2 separate regions of the Homo sapiens genome follow, and region 2 is linked to region 1. The links are contacts of gene promoters, found by promoter capture Hi-C in human tissues and cell types (Jung and others, 2019). All regions are on one chromosome and are shown on one strand. The core of a region is centred on a gene start or on the middle of the fragment in contact, and the rest is flanking DNA. Distances in the headings are between cores, read along the strand shown.

Region 1 (2,700 bases), core at 151-2,650:
GTGCAGTGGCACAATCTCAGCTCACTGCAGCCTCCATCTCCTGGGCTCAAGCAATTCTCTCACCTCAGACTCGCCAGTAGCTGGGATTGCAGGTGCACACCACCATACTCAGCTAATCTATAAAATTTTGGTAGAGATGACATCTTACTGTATTGCCCAGGCTGGTCTCAAACTCCTGGGCTCATGCAATACTCCAGCTTCGGCCTCCCAAAGTGATGGGATTACAGGTGTGAACCACCATACCTGGCTATTATTCTTTAAAAAAAATTATTTATTTTAATAAAAATAGAGACAGGGTCTTGATATGTTGCCCAGGCTGGTCTGGAACTCCTGAGCTCAAGCAATCCTCCCATCTCAGGCTCTGAAAGTGCTGGGTTTACAGGCATGAGCCACGGCATCCGGCCAGTTTCCCCTTCTTTAAAGTGGAGTTGATTGGCTTAGACGACCTTCCTGGACACCTTCCAGCCCTGAGCCCACTGGCTGCAGGAGGCAGAGTACGTGGCAATGATTCATTTTGTTCCAGCTGAGGAAACTGGAACCCAGAAAGTAGATGCCACCTGCCCAGGACCACACACTGATTCCTGTGGTCATCCTGGACTTAATCCTTGGGTCTCCTTTCCTCTCTGCTGAGGGGCACAGGGATTATGCTGCCCATTTTCCGAGTAAGGAAGCTGAGGCCCAGCAAAGAAAGTGACTAAACCCACTGCCAGTTGGCTCAGGAGCAGAATCTGGAACCCCGGACTCCAGACTCCTAGTGAGGAGGAGGTGGGGTGGCAGGATCACCTGTAGGACCACAGAGATGGTCTTCTCGCCTGCCTTGGCTGCCCGCCATTTTCGGTAAGTGTCTGCCTTGAGAAGATTTTCTGCACAGTGAGTCTGGAAACAACAGTGGGAGAGGAGAATTAGGGCACAGAGATGACAGCTAGGCCTCCAGCTCTCAGATGATTCCTTTGAGTCCTCCCAAGGCCTCTACGACCCCCAGATTTAAGCTCTCCCGTTAATCCCCCGACACTCTGCCTGGAGTTTCCCCTACAACACTTTCCCGTGGAAGTTCACCTATGGGCTCTCCAAGAAAGCTTCCCTATTCCTCCTTTTCTCTCCGGAAGTTCCCTAGACGCCGGAACGTCCCTAATTCAACATCTCTCCACAATTCACTTTTAGCCTCCTGGAAATCCCCCCATGACTCTCCTTAGACTTCCAAGAGAACCCCAAAAGCTCTTTTAAGAGCTATCCTCATTAATTCCCTCACGTCTTCCAACCTCCCCCATGCAGGTCCCTCACCGAGTCCTGGCTGCTGCAGGACACGACATGGCGGAGGCGGATCTCCGGCATGTCAACGTCGTGGGCTTCGCCTGGCCAGAAGGATGAGGTAGAGTATGGGGTCCGAGGGGCAGGGAGAGTGGGAGGGGGCGGGGTGCGCCCTGCGCTGGCTAAAGTGCGCAAGCGCGCGAGGCTCGGGCCTTTCAAACCCCGGCGCGCCGGCGCCGGCGTCGACACTGCGCAAGCCCAGTCGCGCCTCTCCAGAGCGGGAAGAGCGCTGCGTTCCTTAGCAACGAGCGTTTCCTCCAGCCCCGCCTCCCTCCGCCACACACAACCCCGCTCTAGCCTCGCCTCCCAATGACGTCCGAACCCTGCTTTCTGGGAGCCTAGCAACAGAAGCGACCTCCGGGATTGGTGTCTGGAAGAAATTCGCCTTTCTCATTGCACGATGGAGTTACCGCCCACACTGAAGCCGAGAAAGCAAATCTTTTTGCTGTATTATTATTTATTTTATTTTTTAAAAATTTTTTGTTGAGACAGGGTCTTGCTCTCTCACCCAGGATGGAGTGCAGTGGCACGATCTCGGCTTTCTGCAACCCCTGTCTCCTGGGGCCAAGGGATCCTCCCACTTCAGCCTCCTAAGTAGCTGGGATTACACGCACGCGCCACCACATTCGGCTAATTTTTGTATTTTTTGTGGAGACATGGGGTGAGAGGGCGGCGGGTCTTGCCATGTTGCCCAGACTGGTCTCGAACTCCTCAGCTCAAGCGATCCACCTGCCTCGGCCTCTCAAAGTGCTGGAACTACAGGCGTGAGCGACTGCGCTGGGCTAGGACAGCAAATCTGAGTGAATTTTCGTAGTTTCGTAGGGAACCTGGATTCTACGCAACAGGATCTCTTCAAATGGCTCAGGCGGCTGCACTCTTCTCTCTGTCCCCTTGCCACACACACACACACGCACATATACATACATACGCGCGCGCGCACGCGCGAAAAAAATTAGCAGATCTCTTTCAGCCTTATGCCTGAGGCCAAAAGAGAAGGGTTCTGCGTCCTAAATATAACACAAAGCATGTGCCCAACCCCCACCACACACACACACACACACCCCTATCCTGGAGTTCTTCCACAAAAGCCTCAGTTTCCCAATATGTGGACTGTGGGCATCTGTCTTTTACTACGCCCGCCTATGACTGCCGACAGACATCCCTCTGTTCATTCGGTGCCTTGGAGACCCAAGGGTGCAGCCCTGGGTGGGGTCGCAGCTGGAGACAGCCCAAACACACAAGGAGTGTGAGCCGAGCACATGAAGAGAGGGGAAGGGAGACAAGGCACCCCGCACCCGCAGGACCAGCCTGGACATGCTGGGTGCTCCAAGGTGGGGCCCTACCCACACTGGGTGCTTCCTTGGGAGGAGAGGGGAAGAGAGAGAAGGAGAG
Region 2 (2,700 bases), core at 166-2,665, 150 kb before region 1:
GCTTGACCCAGGGAGGTGGACAGTTTGCTGAGGTCACGCCACTGCACTCCTCCTCCCTAGATGATAGAGCATGACCCTGTCTCAGAGACAGAGAGAAAGAAAAAGGAAGAAAGGAAGAAAAAGAAAGAGAGAAAGAAAGGAAGGAAGGAAGGAAGGAAGGAAAGAAAGAAAGAGAAAGAAAGAAAGAAAAGAAAAGAGAGGAAAGAAAGAGAAAGAAAAGGAAGGAGTGACAATGCCAAATTCTGGAGAGGAATTGAGAAACTAGATCTCTCATATATTGCTGTAAGAATGTGAAATGGTGCACCCACTCTGGAAAATAGTTTGGCCATTTATTTAAAAACTAAACACACACTTACCATCTACCCAGCAGTCATACTGCTGAGCGTTCATCCACAAGAAATGGAAACTTAAGTCAACACAAAATCATGTATGTGCTTGTTCTTAGCAGCTTTATTTGTAATAGCCCAAAATGAAAACAACCAAAATGTCTTACAGTAGGTGAATGTTAAACTCCACAATAGAAAGAAACAAACTATTTATACACACAGAAACTTGGCTGGATCTCAATGGCATTATGCTGAGTGGAAAAAAGTCCATCTCAAAGGTCATATATGTACTATATGAATCCATGTATATAATATTCTTGAAATGGCAAAATCATAGCAATAGAGATGTATTTTATTTAACTGAATGGTATATCCAAAATATTACCATTAAACATGTAATCAATACAAATTTTAATGAGCTATCTTACATTCTTTTTTATACTAAGTCTTCAAAATGTGGTGTGTATTTCACAATCATGATACATCTTAATTTGGACTTGTTACATTTCAAGCATTCAGTATCCACATGTGGCTACTATATGATATAGTGGCTACTGTATTGTACAGCACAGATCTAAATAACATAAAATGCCTCTTCAAATGGATGGCTCTTTTTTATCGTGATGTTTATTTTATTATTGAGTTTTGAGTATGTTTCATATTTGCATATTACAAATGCAAATTCCTTAACAGGTATATCATTTTAAAATATTTTCTTCTACTCTGCCTTGTCCTTTTCTTCTCTTAGTGTCTTTCACAGAGCACGGTTTTTTTTGTTTGTTTGTTTGTTTTTGAGACGGAGTCTAGCTCTGTCGCCCAGGCTGGAGTGCAGTGGCGCGATCTCGGCTCACTGCAACCCTCACCTCCCGGGTTCAAGCAGTTCTCCTCCCTCTGCCTCCTGAGTAGCTGGGACTACAGGCTTACACTGCCATACCAGGCTAATTTTTTGTATTTTAGTAGAGATGGGGTTTCACTGTGTTGTCCAGGCTGGTCTCGAACTCCTGAGCTCAGGCAATCCACCTGCCTTGGCCTCCCAAAGTGCTGGGATTATAGGCATGAGCCACCGCACCCAGCAGAGCATGGGTTTTTAATTTAATGAAGTCCAATTTATCAACTTTATGAAATATGCTTTTAGTATTATATATTATACATTAGCCAAGTTTGTTATTGCTTGTTTGTTTGTTGTTGTTGTTGTCACTGCTATTCTAAGTCGTTTGCATTTCCAAATGAATTTTAGAATCATCTTGTCAATTACTACAAAAATCCTGCAAGGATTTTGATTGGGATTGTTTGAGGAGAATTGACATCTTAACGTTAAGGAAACAGGAGCATAGGAGAGCCAGGGTGACACCATTTTAAAATCAACCCTGTCGTAAAACTAGCAAGGTACGCTCTTTGCCAATCACAACCCACGGTCATAAGATGTTTACAGCTAAAGAAGCAGTTTATTAATGCCTGCAAGGACAAACTCCTGTGACAGAAGAATGTCCAGATGTCCCAATATCACATAACAATATATACTTTCAAGACAGAGTCATGCTTTGGTGTACTTATGCACTAAAATGCCAAGAATAACTTTTATTTATTTATTTATTTATTTATTTATTTATTATTTTTGGAGATGGGGTCTCGCTCTGTCACCCAGGCTGGAGCGCAGTGACATGATCTCAGTTCACTGCAACTTCTGCCTCCCCGGCTCAAGCAATCCTCCCACCTCCCACCCCCACCCTCCAGTAGCTGGGACTACAGGCGAGAGCCACCACACCTCACTAATTTTTGTATTTTTTTTGTAGAGACAGGACCGCACCGTGTTGCCCAGGCTGGTCTCAAACTCCTGGGCTCAAGCGATCCTCCCACCTTGGCCTCCCAAAGTGCTGGGATTACAAGCATGGTCCACTGCACCTGGCAGATAACTTTCCTTAAATCAGCAAAATAATAAATTTTGTCATGCTGTCAGCCCACTCACACATAGACATAACTTAGCTTAGCTTTTATATAGATAAGACCCCTGTATAAGAAGAGTTTTTAAAAAAGGACAATGCGGCCGGGTGCGGTGGCTCACGCCTGTAATCCCAGCACTTTAGGAGACTGAGGCGGGCAGACCACGTGAGGTCAGAAGTTCAAGACCAGCCTGACCAACATGGAGAAACCCGGTCTCTACTAAAAATACAAAATCAGCCGGGCGTGGTGGCGCATGCCTATAATCCCAGCTACTCGAGAGGCTGAGGCAGGAGAATCGCTTGAATCTGGGAGGCAGAGTTTGTGGTAAGCCGAGATCGCGCCATTGCACTCCAGCCTGGGCAACAAGAGTGAAACTCTGTCTCAAAAAATAATAATAATAATTTTTAAAAAGACAGCGCATTCTTTCTCTTGC

Evidence for each region. The method cuts DNA at HindIII sites, captures the fragments that hold promoters and counts their contacts. A contact is called where the count stands out against the background at its distance.
Region 2: a fragment that was not itself captured here is called in contact with the fragment with the promoter of XRCC1 in region 1 in 1 of the 25 tissues and cell types used here (adrenal gland).

What each region holds. Positions count from the first base shown.
Region 1 is chr19:43,574,127-43,576,826 of GRCh38, forward strand. It overlaps XRCC1 (X-ray repair cross complementing 1), which reads right to left and starts at 1,401. Exons shown (of 17, transcript NM_006297.3): 1 at 1,282-1,401; 2 at 784-876. The coding sequence starts at 1,332. It overlaps PINLYP (phospholipase A2 inhibitor and LY6/PLAUR domain containing), which reads left to right and starts at 1,675. Exons shown (of 6, transcript NM_001193621.3): 1 at 1,675-2,700. RefSeq lists a silencer at 1,355-1,514 and enhancers at 1,615-1,774, 1,775-2,301, 2,302-2,700. The HindIII fragment of the contact is 26,650 bases long and covers 1-2,700 here.
Region 2 is chr19:43,422,058-43,424,757 of GRCh38, forward strand. No RefSeq gene overlaps it. Among named protein-coding and RNA genes, the nearest start is that of TEX101, 8.5 kb to the left of the region's middle. The HindIII fragment of the contact is 7,747 bases long and covers 1-2,700 here.